Linked DNA regions of Homo sapiens: all the other regions are linked to region 1. The links are contacts of gene promoters, found by promoter capture Hi-C in blood cells and fetal thymus (Javierre and others, 2016). All regions are on one chromosome and are shown on one strand. The core of a region is centred on a gene start or on the middle of the fragment in contact, and the rest is flanking DNA. Distances in the headings are between cores, read along the strand shown.

Evidence for each region. Contacts are between HindIII fragments. The CHiCAGO score rates a contact against its expected background, and 5 or more counts as called.
Region 2: a contact is called between a fragment that was not itself captured here and the fragment with the promoter of HEATR6 in region 1, in 1 of 17 cell types (M1 macrophages). The highest score is 5.3, in M1 macrophages.
Region 3: the fragment with the promoter of USP32 here is called in contact with the fragment with the promoter of HEATR6 in region 1 in 2 of 17 cell types (total B cells and M1 macrophages); the score reaches 6.2 in total B cells.
Region 4: a contact is called between a fragment that was not itself captured here and the fragment with the promoter of HEATR6 in region 1, in 1 of 17 cell types (total B cells). The highest score is 5.3, in total B cells.

Annotation. Positions count from the first base shown.
Region 1 is chr17:60,077,442-60,080,502 of GRCh38, reverse strand. HEATR6 (HEAT repeat containing 6) reads left to right here and starts at 1,582. Exons shown (of 20, transcript NM_022070.5): 1 at 1,582-1,807. The coding sequence starts at 1,589. It overlaps HEATR6-DT (HEATR6 divergent transcript), which reads right to left and starts at 1,194. Exons shown (of 2, transcript NR_135648.1): 1 at 1,031-1,194. RefSeq lists a silencer at 1,796-1,925. The HindIII fragment of the contact is 13,067 bases long and covers 1-3,061 here.
Region 2 is chr17:59,740,614-59,743,490 of GRCh38, reverse strand. The region is part of intron 5 of VMP1 (vacuole membrane protein 1); the gene reads right to left. Among named protein-coding and RNA genes, the nearest start is that of VMP1, 34 kb to the right of the region's middle. The HindIII fragment of the contact is 1,382 bases long and covers 762-2,143 here.
Region 3 is chr17:60,390,771-60,393,748 of GRCh38, reverse strand. USP32 (ubiquitin specific peptidase 32) reads left to right here and starts at 1,616. Exons shown (of 34, transcript NM_032582.4): 1 at 1,616-1,867. The coding sequence starts at 1,810. RefSeq lists silencers at 1,146-1,465, 1,576-1,795, 1,826-1,885 and an enhancer at 1,060-1,901. The HindIII fragment of the contact is 3,969 bases long and covers 226-2,978 here.
Region 4 is chr17:60,410,096-60,413,155 of GRCh38, reverse strand. The region is part of intron 2 of LOC105371850 (a long non-coding RNA gene); the gene reads left to right. It also overlaps a transcript of USP32 not described here. Among named protein-coding and RNA genes, the nearest start is that of CHCT1, 11 kb to the left of the region's middle. The HindIII fragment of the contact is 3,591 bases long and covers 1-3,060 here.

The DNA.
Region 1 (3,061 bases), core at 333-2,832:
CCCTGTTCATTTCTGGATAAATCCCTCACCTATCAACCTCATCTGAGGCTCTGCTATCAGGGAACCCAGATTAAAATATCCAACGACTAGGTTTCAGCTCCTGATCTTCTCTGAACAAATGCTTGAATACATTTCTTTACACGAATACACACACACACATGCACATATATAACGCACATATGTACACAGACTAGGAATAAGAAATAATATACCAGCACAACGGAATCTAAATCCAAACAAAAAAATTAACATTTCTCCCCAAGCCCAAAGTCTTCAGAAAACTACCTCTGCTAAAGCATACCCCCAATTTTCACTGCTGAACAGAAATGTTTTGTTCTCAGGATAAAACATACATTCAGGTGACTTCAAGGTTTTCCCTAAGGGCCAAGGGTGAGGATTTGCTTTATATTTGCATAACTCAAAGGCCCTAGAGATGGTTTTCCCAATCTGCCCAACTGTGAAAGTCAAGCCTTCACTTCCTGGATGACTGAAAAGTGATCACAGATTTTTAAATGGCCATTTTATTCTCCAGCTTCTTGACTTCAAGGTTTCAGAAAATCTTGGGGTGTCTCATTTCAACCCGGTCACTCTTAGGCAGATTATATTTTACATGATTCAGTTAAACTCCAAAATTACTCTTCTAGTGGGGCGAGGTGCCTCATGATCCATGAGAGGATTCACACTGGGAAAAAGGGAGAAAAAGGAACCAAGAGTACAGCCAGCTGTCACTTAAGTAGGGAAAGCTGCCTTATATTCCACTGACCAGATTGCAATCACAGAGCCACAGCCAACTGCAAGGAATGCTAGGGAACGTAGCCTTTATTCCGGGTGGTTTTGTGCCTGGGGAAAGATTTTAGAAGAGTAGAAGGGTGCCTTAGAACTAGCGGTTTCTGCTACTGCCATCCACAGCATACCCTCTCCAACTCCAGCCCGAATCTGAAACTCTAGTACGGAACAGAGTACCTTCAGCCCTGTCCAGGAACAAACTCTGGGAGGACAAACTTTCTGGAAGCACAAATTGAGAACTCACTTTTCAGTCAGGGCTCAAGAAGGAGTGGCCGGCGAAAAATCTCCAAGCCAATTTCTTTCTTTTTTTTTTTTTCTGAGACGGAGTCTCGCTCTGTCGCCCAGGCTGGAGTGCAGTGGCGCGATCTTGGCTCATTGCAAGCCCTGCCTCCCGGGTTCACGCCATTCTCCTGCCTCAGCCTCCCGAGTAGCTGGGACAACAGGCGCCCGCCACCACTCCCGGCTAATTTTTTTTTTTTTTTTTTTTTTGTATTTTTAGTAGAGACGGGGTTTCACCGTGTTAGCTAGGATGGTCTCGATCTTCTGACCTCGTGATCCGCCCGCCTCGGCCTCCCAAAGTGCTGGGATTACAGGCGTCAGCCACCGAGCCCGGCCTCCAAGCCAATTTCTGACAAGCATCTGCAGGGTACCGGTCGGAGGAGTCCCGTAGTCATGGAAACCCCTCTGAGCCCCAGTCCGGTCTAAAAAAGGTACTTTCGGAACTAGAGCGCGCGGAACGGGAGGATGTCCCGGAAGTATTTCCCTGGGATCACCCCACCCACCCCCCCCGCCCGTAGAAAAGATGGCTGCTGTGCAAGTTGTCGGTTCGTGGCCTTCCGTGCAGCCGCGGGAGGCACCGCGGGAAGCAATCCCTGAGCGAGGCAATGGGTTTCGCCTCTTGTCTGCCAGGCTCTGCGCCCTGCGCCCGGATGACAGCAGCTCCGCCCGCACCGAGATCCACCTGCTCTTCGATCAGCTCATCTCCGAGAACTACAGCGAGGGCAGTGGCGTGGCCCCGGAGGTAGGCGGCGCGCCCTGCTGGCCCCGGCCCCGGCCCCACCCCTCCGGGAACCCAGCTGGTGGCCTCTGCCTGCCTTTCCCTGATCTTCCCACTCTCGCGCCTGATGATTTAGTTTCAGGATGGCGTGCCCCCTCCAACCTTGGCACATTCTTAGTTCTCCATTTGGAAGACCCTGCAGTGCTTGGCACGCTCGAGTCATTCAAAACCCAACTTGACGACTCCTGCTCTGATAATGCCTCGGGTTTCCTCTCTGATACCAACTTTCCATCCGCCCGCACCCTCCTTCACTCCCTCTCTGTGCACCCAGAACACTTGGTTGACAAAATGCATTACTACTGTTTATTGCGTACATGGTACACGGACCACGTGGGAATCTTAGAACTTGCGTAGTATTAGGGCTTGTTTGCTAATGAAAATACTGAAGCTCGTAAAAATACAGTATACAAAACTCTGCCACAAAGCCCCTATGTTTTCTGTTCCTACACACTAGCTCCTCCCCTCTGCCGTCTTTCTGAGTAATCTTACACACATCAGGCCTTAAATTAATGAATTCTCTGAACTGTTGACACCATGGCCTTCTGGCCCTACGTAGGAAAGAGGGAAGTGGTGCAAGTTGCCTGCTTGCACAGGCATCTCAAACTAGACAGTTCCTAAAGATGAAATTCATTAGCTCCAAACACGCATTCCCGTCCCCAGTCCATCCCACCTTCCAACACACATGCATCATCCACCAAGTCACACCAGACACAAACACTGGTTCTTCCCTCCTTCATCCCAGATCCTGACCAACTCAGGTATTTCAGAATGTGTCTCATATATATTTCTCAGTTCATCCCCTCCTGTCTATTCCCATAGCGAGTGCCTTAGACCTCAGGCAAGGCGACTTATGCCTGGACTGTTCGCTGATCCCCTCTGACTGATCTCCTGCCTCCTGTCTAGCTCCTCTCCAAGCCAGTCATTCCTCCAATGCCAGAATGATCTTTTCTTTAGGAGGAAAAAAAATTGTTCATAAACTTTAAAATCTGCTTTGGAAAAGTCTTCAATACGTATTGGTAAATGGTTGAAGCAAGTTGCAGGACAATTCATACAGAATGAGATCAGTATGAAGCTGGAGGAGGGATTTTAAAATATGTGTGTTTATATATGCAAAGTAAAAGGTCTGAAAGAATTGACTACAGAATAATAGTGTATGTCATTAGGAAGCAGAGTGAGATTAAGGCAGTAGTCGGGGACTTTTGCTGTATTTGTGTAATT
Region 2 (2,877 bases), core at 203-2,702, 340 kb after region 1:
ACGGGTGGTACATCCATACAGAGGAATATTATTAAATAGTGATGAAAAGAAATGAGGTATCACACCAGAAAAAGACAAGGAAAAACCTTAAATGTATATTGCAAAGTGAAAGAGGTCGGTCAGAAAAGGATCATACCCTATAATTCCAACTATAGTGTCTTCTGGAAAAGGCAAAACTATAGAAACAGTAAAAAGATCAGTGGTTGTGAAAGGTTTGGGGGCAGGTGGGGAAGTGGAAAAAACAGGTGAAGCACAGGGCATTTTTAAGACAGTGAAACTATTCTGTATGATACTATAGGTATATACATGACATTATGCATTTGTCAAAACCCATAGACCTGTATAACACAGAGTAGATCCCATAAACTATGGGTTTTAGTTAATAATGTATCAATATTGGTTCCTCAATTGTAACAAATAAATTACACTAATACAATATGTTAATAGTAGAGGAAACTGTGTGGTGGGGAAAGGTGTTATGGCAGTGGTCCCCAACCTTTTGGGCACCAGGAACCAGTTTCGTGGAAGACAAGTTTTCCACAGACCTGAGGTGGGGGATGGTTTTGGGATGAAACTGTTCCACCTCAGATTATCAGGCATTAGATTTTCATAAAGAGCATGCAAGCTAGATCCCTCGTATGTGCAGTTCACAATAAGGTTCGAGCTCCTATGAGAATCTGATGCTGCTGCTGATCTAACAGGAGGTAGAGCTCAGGCAGTAATTCGAGTGATGGGGAGCGGCTGCAAATACAGATGAAGCTTCACTTGCTTGCCAGCCCACTGCTCACCTACTGCTGTGTGGCCTGGTTCCTAACAGGCCAGGGACCAGTACTGGTCTGTGGCCTGGGGATTAGGGACCCCTGGTGTATTAGAATCCTCTGTCTTTTCTGCTCAATTTTTCTGTAAACCTAAAACTACACTGAACAATAAAGCCTATTATTATTATTATTATTATTATTATTATTATTGTTTTTGAGACAGGGTTTTGCTCTGTTTCCCAGGTTAAAGTGCAGTGGTGCAATCACAGTTCACTGTGACCTTGAGCTTCTGGGCTCAAGCAATCCTCCCTCCTTAGCCTCCCAAGGAGCTAGGACCACAGGCACATGCCACCACACCCAGCTAATTTATTTATCTTTTATTTATTTATGTGTTTTTCAGAAACGGGGTCTTGCTAGGTCTGCTCTTGAACCTGTGGTCTCAAGCGATCCTCCTGCCTTGGCCTCCCAAAGCACTGGGAGCACAGGAATGAGCCACTGTGCCCAGCTCTAATAATTTTTTGTTTTGTTTTGTTTTGTAGGCGTTCTCAGTCCTTTATAAATTTCCCTTCTCTTTCCATTCAACTACGGGCACCAGCAACCTACCTGGATAAAGTGAGGATCTCATTTAACTTGCAGCATAATTACAGTATACCTTTAAATTTCTCTTTTCACATACTTTCACATAATATGTAATAAATGTGAACAAGTGAACAAATAACTGTTTTCTATACAGTTAATGGCATCAAAATCTACCCAGTCACTCAGTAAAAAACCAGTAACTACACAGAAAAATGTTGCAAGATCTCATTTATAGAGATAGAGATGGGAGGAGATGTAGATCAAAGGATACAAAGTAGCAAATATACAGGCAGAACAAGTCAAAAGATCCAATGTACTCTACATACACTATGAGGACTATAGTTAATAACAATGTGTTGTATTCAGAGTTTTTGCTAAACTAGTAAATTATAGCTGTTCTTGCCATGAGGAGTAAAAACGTAAAAATGGGTAACTACATGAGATAAAGAATATGTTAATTTTTTCCACAATAGTAACCATTTTACTATATATATTTATATCTTATAACATCATGTTATATACCTTAAATACACATAAAATATATTAAAACAAAACAAAAGGAAATCCAAGAGTTATCTTTCATTCCTTCTTCCTCCATAATAACGTACCACACTCTTGATTGTACTTCTAAAATTTCTGTCATATTTGTCCTTTTTCATCCCAAATGCTATTTCCATTCCAAGCAATCTTTTAAAACATCAAAGATCTATACCATCTTTTGTCTTCATTTTGCTTGACTTCTCTCTACAAGTTCTCTTTATAAATACTCCTTGCTATCCATTCTTCCTATCACCTCCTGGGAAGCTTGTGTCTCTCATAAGGATAATCCTAACTGCTCCTCTTCTCTTCCACCTTCAATCTATCTCCCACACTATAGCCAGGATTATATATTCATAAATTGCAGATCTGGCTGTTTTATATATACTTAATTTTAGGGCATTTAAAATAATTTTTTTTTTGAGACAAGGTCTCACTTTGTCACCCAGGTTGGAGTGCATGGTGCAATCATAGCTCACTGCAGCCCCTATCTCCTGGGCTCAAGCCATCCTCTCGCTTCAGCCTCCTGAATAGCTGAGACTAACAGTCCTGTGCCACCACACCCGACTAATTTTTGTATTTTTTATAGAGATGTAGAGATGTGTTGCCCAGGCTGGACTTGAACTCCTAGGCTCAAGTGATCAGCCCGCCTTGGCTTCTCAAAATGCTGGAATTACAGGCATGAGCCATAATTTCAATCTCTTTTGACATTCAGCAGAGTCTGCTATCTGGGTTGCTTTTCAGAGGCTTCCAAATTAATTAAATGCTACAAATGAGTTTCTTAATCTGGTTTTCCCAAGGAATATGAGGACAGGTCTAGACACGAACAGAAAAGTATCCTGTAACCTGTAATTCCTTCTTTTCCTCTCTCCCTCAACCTCTACTAGTGAATGTAGTGTTATTCTACTACGAATGCAGTTATTAGAAAAACAGTGATATGAGTTAATTCCCTAGGATTTATGTCCCTGTTTGAGTTAAATCACCAAGCAAACATGAACATAAT
Region 3 (2,978 bases), core at 367-2,866, 310 kb before region 1:
CGCGCCATTGCACTCCAGCCTGGGCAACAGGGGTGAAACTCCGTCTCAAAAAAAAAAAAAAGAAAAACACAGAATATTACCTTCTTTCTCTAGCAGGGTATATTAGAATCTGTTGGTTTTAGGAACTAATAACCTTTCCCTGGCCCTAAATTACCTAACCGGCACCTTGGGTCCAATCTAATCCAAATGGTTACTTTTTCAATATTGCTTCCTTTTCCAGAAGCTTTATTCCGTGACTTTTAGGTTGAAGACGCAAACTAAATAAGAGTTGAAAATCAAGGAACTAAATAATAATTCCACTGTACATATACACCCCATTTGGTTTCTCCATTTATGGTTTCCTATAGGTTGTGTTCACCTTTTGGCTCTCGTGAATAATGCTGCTATAAACACGGGGGCACAAATACCTGTTCACATCCCTGCTTTTCATTCTTTGGGAAATGGAGAGGTGGAGTGGGAGAGTCAGTCACATGCTGCCACACCATGAACCTGGAAGGCACGATGCCAAGTGAAATAAGCCAGTCACAAAAGAGAAAGTCTGCAGAGTTCCACTCAGAGGAAATACTTAAGAGTAGTGAAATTGATAGTAGGACAGCGGTTGCCACGGACCAGTGGGAGGGGGATTGGGGAGTTACCGTTTAATAGGCACAGAGTTTCCCTTTTGCAAGATGAAAAACGGTGGGAAATGGGACGTGGCAATGGATGCAAAACAATATCAATGTTCTTAACGCCACTGAACTCACTTAGAAATTGTGAAAATGGTACATTTTGTTACGTATATTTTACCACAGATTAAAACGACTCCACGCTAAGCCTTGTAGCCCTCATGTTTCTCGGGGAGAAACTCTGGGAGAGAGGATAAGCCTTTTGCACAGCGCTTTCCAGAGAATGTGTACAAGAGGCATGGTCAGGAGGAGAAGGTGGGCCGGGCAGGCGAGATGACCCGAAAAGGCAGATCCACTTCGTTAACAAGGTCCACTTTCCTCAGGGATCTCCCGCTAGGTGTGAGCATTCTTTTGTCACAGGAAAGCCTTGAGATTCTCCTTTCCTTTCACAACGCCCTCCCAGTCAAAGACGTCCCTAAGGTTGGGAGCTCCCTGCCTACCCACTCCTTTCTCTTCTGAGCCATATGCCGCATCCCTCAGAACCCCATTCCCTAAGATTCTGCGGTCTTCCATGTTAGGTCCCGGCAACTGCCACACTAACCGTCAGCTGCTCGGACCCCACCCGCCGAACGCCAGAACATGTGGGCGCGGGGGCGGGGGGGGTCGTCCTCAAGCGCCCCGGAAGTCACCACCCCCCGTCGCCAGCGGAGGCGCCCGGGCGGGGCGCGCGGCTGCGATTGGCGGGAAGATGGGACGATGCGTTACGTGCGGAGATGCGTCCCCCTCCCCGGCGCTCCTGCGCGCGGTTAGCTTGGGGAGGGGCGGAGCGTGCGGCCCTGGGCGGCCGTTACCGGGAACAGTGTCTGGCCTCGGGTCCCGTGACCCTCGGCGGAGCTGGCGGGAGGGGGCGGAAGTGGCAAGAGGGCGTGAGGAGGGAAGGAGAGGGAGGAGAGAGAGGAGAGAGAAGGGCGGAGTAGGAGGCAGGGGAAGGGGGCGGGGCGGAAGAGTCACGTGATCCGGCATGGAGGCGGTGGCGGCGACCGGGAGGAGCCGCCGGGGCAGAAGCCGCACTTGTTAGTGTGGGGGGAGGTGGGGGCGGGGGACGCCGACACCGTCACCGTCACCCAGGGACGCCGAGGAGAAGGCGGGAGGGGGGTGGGGGCGAGATCAGGCTCCGACCCCCCGCCGAGGGGATGAGGGGAGCATGGGTGCCAAGGAGTCACGGATCGGATTCCTCAGCTACGAGGAGGCGCTGAGGAGAGGTGAGGGGGGAGGGGTCTGGGCGAGCTGCCTGGGAGGCCCGCGACGGGCAGCCTGGAGGGTGGGTAACCGGGAGGGAGAGGGGAGATTGAGGGCGTGGGGCGCCTGAGGCGGAAGGGAAAGGCGGCCGGCCTTGGGGAGTGTGGTGGAGGAGAGAGGTCGGGTGGGAAGCAGCGTTTGGGAATTAGGGCCGTTTGGAAAGGGGCTTGTCCTGAGAGAGGGGGATCGGCGCTGGCAGGGCAGTGCCCGTGCTCGCTGGTGGCGTTGTGATCCTGGATGTGTCCAGGGAAGTCCTCTCCCCGTTTTCTTGGGCGGCTCCAGCCCATCCAGCCCCCCTCATCCTTCATTGCCATTTTCTCCTATCATTCCTTCATAAAAACCTCAAATAACATCCTAACCTCGTTCCTAACAGCCTTAGCTGGAAGGGGACGAGGAGGCGGCTGCAAAGCGCTCCTCTCTGCTACTGGAAGCCCCTTCGTATCTGGGGAGTCCCTGCCTTTTCCCAGAGCCTATGCCTGTCTCTTGAGGGCTGTGGCCATCCGCTTCTGCCACCCTTCACCGTTTGAGCGGCTGACTTTGATAAGAACGATCTGAAATGAAGTTGTGTTTGAGGTGAGATGAGACTGGACAGCTGGCGTTGGCACCAGACCTTGTCTTAGGTTTCATCTCCTCCGACGTTGACCAAAGCCTTTGACTGCACTTGATGCCCAGTTCTCGCTCCATCCCTCTCCATGAAATGGCATTGGGAAGTCCAGCATTCAGATATTGTGTTAAATCTCCCTTTAGAGACTGGCCTGGCTGCCAGTCCCGGCCTGCTGCTTATTGGCTCTGAGGCACAGTATATTGTTGGCAGCCCCAACCCCCTACCACTCACTCTGATACCGCTGTCCATGATCACTAAAGCACACACTAACTGGAAGTGTCTTGTTGCACAGTTTATGGCCGGAATGTCTTAATTTTTCATGACTGGGATTTCAGTGTGTGTAGATCTGTGTATGCTTGTATTTCTTTTAGACATTTAATGGATATTCTTGGTAAGAAGTGAAAAAACATTAAGAAGATTAGGAGCTAGGCATTATTGTTAACAGGTTTCCAAGTCAAGAAATCAGCCAT
Region 4 (3,060 bases), core at 163-2,662, 330 kb before region 1:
TCCCAAAATAGTTTTCAAAAATGTTTTGTACTATTTTCTTCACTCTTATCTGATATTTACTGTAGTTTTCCATTTAATAGACCCCTGGTTGGATTTCACTTTTTTTTTCCTGTAGCAATGTTTTAATTTGGGCTTCATGTGCTCTAAAAATATCTTGTCAGGGTATCAAAATAACACTGCAGAATGGCAACCTCGGAACTTTAGAGCGTGTTTCTAAATAGTCTAATGATATGCAAGCGTCTGTGATCTTGTCAAAATTGCTGGGGCCTAATGATTTCCTCTTGGCTCTTTCTGGAAGGTTTTCTTTGCTAAGACAGAATTCAGGGAGATAAGCAGGAGAGAACTGAATGAATGTCAATGAATGTTGGAGCTGGGAATGATTTTGGAGAGGAAAAAAATGCATCTCAAATTTTGCAGCAATTTCTCCCCAAAGGACTCACTCTCACCACCTTTCTTCCAGGGCACCGTATTTGTACCCCACTCCCTCCCTTCAGGCCCAGATTTGGTGAGACTGGGGACTAATATTAGAGTTTTTCAGACAGAAAAATCACCTTGCCTTAGATCTTCAGAATCAGAATGTCCCAAGAGGGTCTGGAAATCACTATTTTTTTTTTTTTTTTTGAAACAGGGTATCACTCTGTCACCCAAGCTGGAGTGCAGTGGTGCAATCATAGCTCACTGAAGCCTTGACCTCTCAGACTCAGGTGATCTTCCTGCCTCAGCCACCTGCTCCCCCGCCCCACCGCCCCCATTCCCCACTAGTAGCTGGGACTACAGGTTCACATCACATACCCGGCCAATTTTTGTATTTTTTGTAGAGATGGGATTTCACCATGTTGCCCAGGCTGGTCTCAAACTCCTGGGCTCAAGCAATCTTCTCTGTCTTGGCCTCCCAAAGTGCTGGGATTATAGGCATGAGCCACCACACCTGGCTTGGGGATCAGTATTTTCATAAATATCCTAGGCAATTATCATCATCGGGCAAATTTGGAAAATACCGGTGTGGTGAGCTTGAATTCCAAGTTGGGCTTGTTGGGTCCAGTCAGGTAAATTACAGATTCTCTGATATTGTGCTAGAGCTGGCTCTAACAGGCTCATCAGAGCTGATTATTAAGTTTTTGCAATTTTGCCAGCTGTTTGCTAAACAGAAGCATTATTAAATATTAAATTATATTGAATGCAGGGACTCAAACAGATACTTATATACCAATGTTCACAGCAGCATTGTTCACAATAGCCAAAAAGTGGAAACAACCCAAGTGTCCATCAATAGATGAATGGATAAAAAAATGTGGTATATGCATGCAATAGAATATTATTCAACCACAGAAAGAATGAAATCCTCATATATACTACAACATAAATGAATCTTAAAAACTCTACTAAGTGAAATAAGCGAGACACAAATGAACAAATATATAATTCCACTTATATGAAATATCTAAAATAGGCAAATTCATAGAGACAGAAAGTAGAATAGGAGCTGTACATGGTGGTGCATGCCTGTAATCTCAGCTACTCTGGAGGCTGAGGTGGGAGGATCACTTGAGCCCATTAGTTTGAGACCAGCCAGGGGAACATAGTGAGACCTCTCTCTCTAAAACAAATAAATAAATACAAATTAAAATTAAATTTAAAAAATAGTGACAGACTCTCACTTTGTCACCGAGGCTAGAGTGTAATGGTACAATCACGGCTCAAACTGAAGCCTTGACTCCTGGGCTCAAGTGATCCTCCCACCTCAGCCTCCTGAGTAGCTGGGACTGCAGGCATGCACCACCATGGCTGGCTAATTATTTATTTATTTATTTATTTATTTATTTATTTATTTTTGAGACAGTTTTGCTTTTATTGCCCAGGCTGGAGTGCAATCGGGCAATCTCGGCTCACCGCAACCTCCACCTCCTGGGTTCAAGCGATTCTCCTGCCTCAGCCCCCAAATAGCTGGGATTACAGGCATGCACCATGCTCTGCTAATTTTGTATTTTTAGCAGAGACAGGGTTTCTCCATGTTGGTCAGGCTGGTCTTGAACTCCCAACCTCAGGTGATCCGCCTGCCTCGGCCTCCCAAAGTGCTGAGATTACAGGTGTGAGCCACCGTGCCTGGCCTGGCTGGCTAACTTTAAAAACTTTTTTTTTTTTGTAGAGGTGAAGGTCTCATTATGTTGTCCAGGCTGGTCTCCTAAGTAGCTGGGACTACAGGCACGTGCCACCATGCCTGGCTAATTTTTGTATTTTTAGTAGAAACGGGGCTTCACCATGTTGGCTAGGATGGTCTCAATCTCTTGACCTTGTGATCCCCCCACCTCAGCCTCCCAAAGTGCTGAGATTATAGGCGTGAGCCACCGCACCCAGCCGACAGTTTCTATTTCTAACCTATGTTATGTGCTTTTGACTCTTGTGATTTATATAGCATTATATAGTATAGACTGCATTTGTTTTTGTTTGCTCTTGCTTCTCTAGTTCTTTCTTTCTTTATTTATTTTTTGAGACAGTGTTTCACTCTGTGGCCCAGGCTGGCGTGCAGTGGTGCAATCTCGGCTCACTGCAAGCTCCGCCTCCCAGGTTCACACCATTCTCCTGCCTCAGCCTCCTGAGTAGCTGGGACTACAGGTGCCTGCCACCACGCCCAGCTAATTTTTTGTATTTTTAGTAGAGACAGGGTTTCACCGTGTTAGCCAAGATGGTCTCAATCTCCTGACCTTGTGATCTGCCCGCCTCAGCCTCCCAAAGTGCTGGGATTACAGGCATGAGCCACCGCGCCCACCGAGGCTAGGGTTTTTAAAGGATAGTTTGGAGGGCAGGAGACTAGGGAATGGGGTATGCTGATTGGTTGGGTCAGGGATGAAATCATAGGGGGTCAAAGCTGTCTTCCTGCACTGAGTCAGTTTCTGGGTGGAGGTTACAAGACCAGATGAGCCAGTTTCTTCCTATGTGTTGCTGGGGGTTACAAGACCAGATAGCCCATCAGAATGCAGGGTCTGGAAAATACCTCAAACATCAATCTTAGATTTTACAATAGTGATGTTATCTATAGGAGCAACTGGGGAGATTACAAAT